3 separate regions of the Homo sapiens genome follow, and regions 1 and 2 are each linked to region 3. Evidence: promoter capture Hi-C in 16 types of primary human blood cells and fetal thymus (Javierre and others, 2016). All regions are on one chromosome and are shown on one strand. The core of a region is centred on a gene start or on the middle of the fragment in contact, and the rest is flanking DNA. Distances in the headings are between cores, read along the strand shown.

What was found. Contacts are between HindIII fragments. The CHiCAGO score rates a contact against its expected background, and 5 or more counts as called.
Region 1: a contact is called between a fragment that was not itself captured here and the fragment with the promoter of TXNDC2 in region 3, in 1 of 17 cell types (erythroblasts). The highest score is 8.5, in erythroblasts.
Region 2: a contact is called between a fragment that was not itself captured here and the fragment with the promoter of TXNDC2 in region 3, in 1 of 17 cell types (erythroblasts). The highest score is 5.5, in erythroblasts.

Annotation. Positions count from the first base shown.
Region 1 is chr18:9,680,900-9,683,730 of GRCh38, forward strand. LOC124904244 (a long non-coding RNA gene) reads right to left here. Exons shown (of 2, transcript XR_007066281.1): 2 at 2,564-2,831. Among named protein-coding and RNA genes, the nearest start is that of RAB31, 26 kb to the right of the region's middle. The HindIII fragment of the contact is 1,740 bases long and covers 428-2,167 here.
Region 2 is chr18:9,710,973-9,713,672 of GRCh38, forward strand. All of the region lies in intron 1 of RAB31 (RAB31, member RAS oncogene family), which reads left to right. The region is part of intron 1 of LOC105371981 (a long non-coding RNA gene); the gene reads left to right. Among named protein-coding and RNA genes, the nearest start is that of RAB31, 4.0 kb to the left of the region's middle. The HindIII fragment of the contact is 369 bases long and covers 1,163-1,531 here.
Region 3 is chr18:9,884,408-9,887,310 of GRCh38, forward strand. TXNDC2 (thioredoxin domain containing 2) reads left to right here and starts at 1,566. Exons shown (of 2, transcript NM_032243.6): 1 at 1,566-1,673; 2 at 2,182-2,903. The coding sequence starts at 2,274. The HindIII fragment of the contact is 12,861 bases long and covers 1-2,903 here.

The sequences.
Region 1 (2,831 bases), core at 48-2,547, 200 kb before region 3:
AATAGAGATTATGTTGAATCTATAGATCAATTTTAAAATATATATTCTATCTTTTTATTTACTTTATATGAGGAGACACTGTCGTATCTTCCTTTATTTCTTTAATCATGGTTTTCTTTAGTTTTTAAAATATATTTATAATGGCTGCTTTGAAATCAGTTAAATCTGACACCTGTACCTTCTCAAAGATAATTTCTGTTGTCTTCCTTTTTTTTTTCTTGTGTATGATTTATACTTTACTGATTGTTGTTGTTTGGCAAGAGTTACAATTTTTATTAAAAAAACAGACTTTTAGATATTGTAGCAATTTTGCATACCGATTTTTCCCTTCCCTTCTTCCCTCCTAGGCTTGTTGCTATTTGCTTATTTATTTATTTAGTAAGTTGGCTGTACTATTTTAGTGAAGTCTATTTCCCTCATAGTATAAAGCTTCTGATGTCATTCTTCAGAGGACACAGACTTGGTCACATGCACAGTCACCCTGGGATGACAGTAGTTTAGTAGGGCACTTTCAACTATCTTTTTCCTTAATCTTTCTGTTAAGCTGTCTGCCTTTGTTTGAGTCACAACCAGCTCTTAGGCTGTACTAATTACCAATCAAATTCTTTATTGTGTTCAATAGTACCCTATGGATTAATTGCTCCACTGGTTGATCCTGTTAAATTCAGACACATTTGCAGGGATAGTTTTTGAAGCCAGTCTTTGAGGTTTGTTCTGATTCTAGGAGGGTTCTTCTTAGCTATCTCTTTTTTCAGTCCTCTCTGGTAAACTGGCTGGTCTATAATTTAGCTTGCTGCTCTCATGGAGCTACTGCTTCCTCTTAATTGCTTATCACCAAACTCTCCATTGTTTTTGAGAGTGGTCTTAGGCTTGAACTCCCTGACACTGTGCTCCAAATAAAGTCAGTTTCTTTGGGGAGAGTTTCAGAGTTCTCTGTCCTTACGGCCTGACTCTACCACTAGGAAAAATCTCTGAGTACCTGCTTCAGACCTAAGGGTAGGGACAGTGGGTCACTTTTCTTGGAGTAGCATCGTTGCTTTATGAGTGGGTTGGTGGATATGGGTGGTAGTCTCTGGTCTTCTCACCTTCTCTCTCCCAACTTAAAACCACTACCCTGTGAGCAAATGAGGGCCAGGACATGGGCCCAATATCAGATTGCCATGACTATGGTAGCACTACCTTCCTATGAGTGAAGAAGTGATGAAAGAAGAGAGCCTCTGACTTTTTGGGTGGATTAACCTATAATTTAGCCTCTGTAACAAAGAACATGGAGAAAGAGGATGAGAGATGCTGGCAAACTTTCTCTCCCAGAAAGATACCCTAGCCCTTGACTGGGAGCTTTGAGGAAAAGGAGTCTCATCTTTTTGGCCATGCCTACCTAGGGCCAGGCTTCCATCATGCTGGGCTGATGGGAAGGGAGGGAACAGGTTATGCCCAAGTGCCACAGAGTCTTGCTGTCTGTAGTGAGATTAGGTAGATTTTCTTGAATGTTTGTTTGTTTGCTGTATGACTTAGGACAAGTTTCAGAGACTTTCAGTGGTCATTGTTTCATAATTTTCACCAGTTTTGGTTGTTTTGTCAGGGGATGAATCCAAGGAGTGGTGGCCTCGTATCATCATTCTGGGTGTCATCTGACTGTTCATTTTTATGTACTTACTTATTTGAGACAGGGTCTCACTCTGTGACTTAGGCTGGAGTGCAGTGGCAATCATAGCTCACTGCAGCCTCAAATACCTGGGCTTAAGCTATCATCTCACCTCAGCATCCTAAGTAGCTGGAACTATAGGCACATGCCACCATGCCTGGATTAAAAAAAAATTTTTGTGGGTGGAAATGGGATCTTGCTATGTTGCCCAGGCTGGTTTCAAGTTCCTGGCCTCTAGTGGTCCTCCCACCTCAGCCTCCCAAAGTGCTGGGATTATAGGCAGGAGCCACTGTGCCCAGTCTGTTCATATTTTAAAATTCTCTTGTTCCTCTGGGTTTCATTATTGGTAATTCCTATTTTTATGTCTTCAAGTTCAGTAATCTTTTCTTACGTAATGTCTAGCTAGTCTTTATTTTATTTTTTAAATTTGTTTTTATAGGCAGGACCAACCAGGTAATTAATCTGCCTTTAATTCTAGCCAGTGAATTTTTCATATTGAACATTGCAGTTTTCATCTATAGAAGCTTGCTTTGAGTCTTTTTGATATTTTCCTTGTCTCTACTTACCTTTTGAACATATGTAATACAGTTTAGTGCCTTGTCTTCTAATTCTAACATCTGTGTCAGTTAAGGATCAAATTTAATTTGTTTTTCTCATTATAGGTTGTATTCTCAGGGATCTTTGCTTGACTGGTAATTTTTGATTGGATGCCAGACTTTATGAATTTTACTTAGTAGGGTGATGGACATTTTTATGTTTATATAAATATTTGTTCTAGAACACAATTATGTCACTTGTAAACAATTTGATATTTTCAGGTCTTTCTTTTTGAATTAGTTCGGCAGGACTGATTAGCATTTAGTCTAATTATTCCCTTGTACTATGTACCATCCCGTTAAAAGGAAAACTTTAGGCAAATTAAATTGAGCAGAGTTTAATTGAGCAAAGAATGATTCATGAATTGGGCATCCCCCAGAACCAGCAGCGCAACTCCAGGGCCACCATGTGGCCGGATAACATTTATGGACAGTAAAAGGGCAGTGACTTACAGAAAATGGAGGTGAAGCACAGAAACAGCTGGCTGGCGACAGTTTGGCACTTAGTTAAACATGGTTTCAACAGTTGGCTGCCTTTGAGTGGCCAAAATTCGGCTGCTATAATTGGCTGAGGCTTGACTACTTGTTAC
Region 2 (2,700 bases), core at 97-2,596, 170 kb before region 3:
TTTTATTTGAAAGACCAAATGACCTTGTTGTCCACACTGAGTAAGATTTGCCACATCCCCTCGTTTGGCTGGCTCTTTCCTGGGTGAGATGTGTGCAGCAGGCTGTGTTTCTAGCTGCTCATCCAATTAGGCTGATTCTCTGGGTGGGATAACATTGAGGGAGATCAAAACCATTTGACTGTCTTCGGTTTACTCTCTTCTCTCTCTCTCTCTCTCCTCTTTTTTGTTTTGAGACAAGGTCACATTCTGTCATCCAGGCTGGAGTGCAGTGGTGCCATCATAGCTCACTGCACCCTCCAACTCCTGGGCTCAGTGGATCCTTCTGCATCAGCCTAGGTTTATTCTCTTGATTCGAGAGACCCTGTGGATCAGTCAGTGCTAAGTCCAAAAGTCCTTTAAAAAATATATGTATATTTTTGAGATAGGGTCTCACTCTGTCACCCAGGCTGGAGTGCAATGGTGCCATCCTGGCTCACTGCAGCCTCAGCCTCCCAAGCTCAGGTGATCCTCCCACCTCAGCCTGCCAAGTAGCTGGGACCACAGGTGTGTACCACCCAGCCCAGCTAATACTTTTTATTATTTTTGTAGAGATGGGGTCTCCCTATGTTGCCCAGGCTCTTTCAACATTTTAACAGGAACCTTGGGCTCATTTGTGCTTTGCGTAGGGAGGTCTGTCTTTTCTGGGTGAAGTTTTGTGTGTGGCTGGCATTCAGCTTCCTGTTTTTTAGCCATGAGACACCTCCCTGAAGTCTTGCTATGACCAAGACCCTGACAGCCACACCTTCTTTCTGCCTGTTAGAATCACTTTCTGTCGGGTTTCCCTTATAAGGTGATAGAGAACATAGACTTCATAACAAAATATCACTCTCACTGGGAAGGCTGAGGGGTTGGTCTTTTTGTGCCTGGTACTGTGCTCAGTGGGGACTTGGGGACATGCTTCGCATTTAAGGTATAGGTTGTTTTAGGCATGGGCAGTAGGCGCTTTCAGCACAGGCTCCCTGCTGGTCACTCTTTGCTGTAGTTTCCTGCTCCATCCATGGGGTCGGAGGTCTTACCTCCTGACGTTAGAGTCATTTGCAGCAGGTGGGAGTGAAAGTGGGCCGGGTGCCAGGTCTTCTTTACCTGAACCTCTCCTGTCTTCCTGGCACATTAGGAATGTCCAAGCTTATTTCTATTGGTGAATGCTCCCACATGGGATGGATAATGGCCTGTGGAACATTCTCTGAATGCTTTGTGTTCTTGGAAAACCAAGGACTGAAGAGCGTTGGGTTTGTTTAGGTTACCTGTTATAAATTCTTGGCTCACATTTCATGTGTGGACTTTCTTGGGTTTATTCCACATGGGGACAGCCCAGCAAGCCTTTGTGAACGCCCTTTCCTGGCCTGAGCCGAGTCACCTGTGGAAGTCAGCCGTGCAGGAGGGTGTGCTTGATAGGGGGAAGCACCCTGGGCAGGACCCCATGAGTTTCCTTCTTACCAGGAAAGTGTCATTCGTCCCACTTTGTGATCTGAACTGGTATTATGAAACATGAAGCTTAAAGGCAACAAAGTATGTTAACAACAACAACAAAAAATACTTAACAAAAACAACACTGAGGCAGCAGCTGCTTCAACCCCAAAGGTGGAAAAGTTTCCCAGTATGCATTTTTAACACACATCACCATGTGGCAAGAAGCAGGAGGAAGGGAGAGAGTGGGGAGGAGGAGAAAGAGAAGGAGGGGACCTTTGTTTTGTTATCTCCTTGGGGTATTTGTGTGCGTGCACTTAAAAACTGCGTGCACTTAAAAACTGCTTCCTGATGGAATCCCAAAGAGATTTATATTTGGACTTTGGTTGTCTTGACAACAATTTAGAAATTCCTACCACTTCCTCAATAGCTGAGTGATCAGTTAAAAGAGCCGATGGCTTCCCTGCTTCTGGTAAGGAGCTTGTTGAAGCATCTTGTGATCTTTGTTGGAATGTATATGGTGGCTCATTAAAGAGCAGTCAAATACCTGGGATTTGGTGAGACATCTGGGTAATGGGTACTTCACCTATGTCCAGGGCCTTCGCATGGAAGGCCTCTTGTCTCCCCAGGGACACTAGGACGCAAGAGTAGAACAGATTTATACTCACAGTAAGGCAGATCATCAGAACTGTGCAACCTCACATGAGTTGCTATGAGCACTGTATGACAGAGTATCCAATAAGGTGATAAGAATTTGTTAGTGTTATTGTGGAAGGAAGTAATGCATAGGATAGTGGGTTGGGCTAGGTAATGATCACATTTGCTTTCCAAGTCTGAGATTCTAGTAACTTACTATTTTTTCTCCCGAGACTGGCATTTCTTGGGGAAGGGGGATGGTGGGGAGGGTTGAGTGGCTAGCCACAGCATTTATTTCTTGGCACAACTGATTCCTCTACTAAATTGAACCATTTGTGGAAAGTATGTTCAGCATTGGTGACTCTGGGTACGTTCTATGTTACACGAGAATAAATATGATATAGTGGGCTATCTTCCCAGCAGTGCCTGGCATATGGTAACACTGTGTCTTATGCACCCATCCCAGGCTGATGGAATCCATCAGGGTCCCTTTGTTCCTCCTTTGTTCAGGGTCAGCATTGCTGCTTTCATCCTCCCTCAGCTTTCAGAGCTCAGTGCATCTCTGGAGTGTGTATCAGAATCATTTGAGGAGCATTTTCAAGCTTCTCATGGTCCCTT
Region 3 (2,903 bases), core at 316-2,815:
CCAGTGAGAGAGGGAAGAGCTTTCTTTGGCAGTAACCGAGGAAACGGAGTGGAAGCATGAGCTCTTCCTGGAACAGGATTCATATCATCAAGAACTACGGATTTGCTGGGCCAGGCATGGTGGCTCACGCCTGTAATCCCAGCAATTTGGGAGGCTGAGGCAGGTGGATCGTTTGAGGTCAGGAGTTAGAGACCAGCCTTGCTAACATGGTGAAACCCTGTCTCGACTAAAAAAAATACAAAAATTAGCCGGGTGTGGTGGTGAATGCCTGTAATCCCAGCTACTCGAGAGGGTGAGGCAAGAGAATTGCTTGAACCTGGGAGATAGAGGTTGCAGTGAGTCGAGATTGTGCCACTGCACTCCAGCCTCGGTGACAGGGCAAGACTGTCTCAAAGAAAAAAAAAAAAGGAACTATGGATTTGCTAAGGCCAATAGTCTCTCTACCCCTTAGTAAAATGTGTTTTGGTATAAAAATCCAGATAATTGAACCATTGCCATTAGATGTTTCGAGGTTTCTATTGACAATGTGGAGGTCTTATCATTTAGATTTCAACACTTTTATTTTTAGTTTTTAGAGACGGGGCCTTGCTCTGTTGCCCAGGCTAGAGTACGATGTAGTGATCACGGCTCACTGCAGTCTTGAACTCACTGGCTCAAGCAAGCCTCCCACCTCAGCTTCCCAAGTAGCTGGGACAGGCGTGTGCCACTGTGCCTGGCTAGGTTTTGTATTTTTTGTAGAGATGGGGTCTTGCTATGTTGCCTAGGCTGATCTCAAACTCCTGGGCTCAAGAAATCCTCCCACCTTGGCCTCCCAAAGTACTGAGATCACGGTGTGAGCCACCATGCCTGACCACTTTCAACACTTATATTGTTGGGGTGAAACTGAAACATATGAGGATTTGTTCAAAGTACATGTAGAGAAGGCAAAATTCCACACTGATTCTTCCTGCCTTGGACTGGATGTGTTGTGCAGAGTGAGGGTGGAAAATGAGCCAGTGGTCCTGAACTAATAAAATAAGTCTCCCTGGGGGACAGGTATTTGGCTTCCCATTCCACAGGATGGGGTAGATGTGGCTTATGGAACCAGGATTATTCACAAAGAGGTTGTTCTCCTGTATGTAAAGGCTGGAAGAGCCGTGTACTTGGATGTGTCTGCATGGGGGAGGGCACAGGCTGGGCTGGTGCGCCTGGGAGGTGGGGGAGGTGGGGAAAGAGGCTGTCTAGCAGGAGCTGAACATTTGACATTGTGGGACACTTTGCAGAGGAGGCTAACATGGTTTCGAGGAGATACTTAGGAGCTGGTCACAATGGGTGAGTCGTAAAGAGAATGTTGGAGCTGGGGGATCCTGGAGAAAGATGATAAGATGGTTGATTCACAGAACCCAGGCTGGACGGGACTTGTGGCGAGCAGTCCAGCACAGCCTCACAGTGCAGAGCATGAGCTTTGGAGCCTGCCCCCACCCTAGCTTTGTGACCTTAAGTGAGCTACATAGCTTCTCATGTGTAAACTACTCATCATAATGGTTCTGACCTCAGTGGTTTGTTGTGTTCTAGGAAATGATGCCAGTGAATGCGTAGTCCCAGCCTCAGCACAGGGGAGCCACCTTGAAGCTCTCAAATATCACTGTTGTGAATACAGAGAGGGAAAACCAACTGTAACGTGCCACCCAAATGTAAGTTTTACTCATATTTTGATGTTAGGATGGATAGCTTGGAAAAAGTTGGAGGGTACGGCCTTTACTATGAGGCATCTATGAAGGATCAGGAATGGATGTAGACAAGGAACTAGGAATGGAAAGTGTTAAAGCTGGAGCCTCTGGAAAACCAGAAATGAGGCTGGGCACTCAGGAAGAAACAAGTGAAGGTGATGCTAATGGTAAGTAGGGGAGGAAAGAGGGTTGCCTTAAAGACCTATGCAGTTAGGGAGCGGGCAGGGTGTTGAACCAAGAAGGGAAAGTTGTAGCTTAAGAACATGTATACAGAAGATACGTGTAACCACACGCTGTTTGTCCTTCTGCTGAATGAGTTTTTCAGATTAATACATCATTCATCAGACTTCATTCGTGATCTCGAAGAGTGACATCAGTCTTCCTTGGAATATGAAGAGAATTTCTTTGGTTCTTCTTTTGCATTTCTATTTGATTTATTTTATTTTATTTTATTTTATGTTTTTTGGTACAGAAAGCTCATTACTAGTCCTGTCCAGCAACGTGCCTCTCCTGGCCCTAGAGTTCTTGGAAATAGCCCAGGCCAAAGAGAAGGCCTTTCTCCCCATGGTCAGCCACACGTTCCACATGCGCACAGAGGAGTCTGATGCCTCACAGGAGGGCGATGACCTACCCAAGTCCTCAGCAAACACCAGCCATCCCAAGCAGGATGACAGCCCCAAGTCCTCAGAAGAAACCATCCAGCCCAAGGAGGGTGACATCCCCAAGGCCCCAGAAGAAACCATCCAATCCAAGAAGGAGGACCTCCCCAAGTCCTCAGAAAAAGCCATCCAGCCCAAAGAGAGTAACATCCCCAAGTCCTCAGCAAAACCCATCCAGCCCAAGCTGGGCAATATTCCCAAGGCCTCAGTGAAGCCCAGCCAGCCCAAGGAGGGTGACATCCCCAAGGCCCCAGAAGAAACCATCCAATCCAAGAAGGAGGACCTCCCCAAGTCCTCAGAAGAAGCCATCCAGCCCAAAGAGGGTGACATCCCCAAGTCCTCAGCAAAACCCATCCAGCCCAAGCTGGGCAATATTGCCAAGACCTCAGTGAAGCCCAGCCAGCCCAAGGAGAGTGATATCCCCAAGTCCCCAGAAGAAACCATCCAGCCCAAGGAGGGTGACATCCCCAAGTCCTCAGCAAAGCCCATCCAGCCCAAGCTGGGCAATATTCCCAAGGCCTCAGTGAAGCCCAGC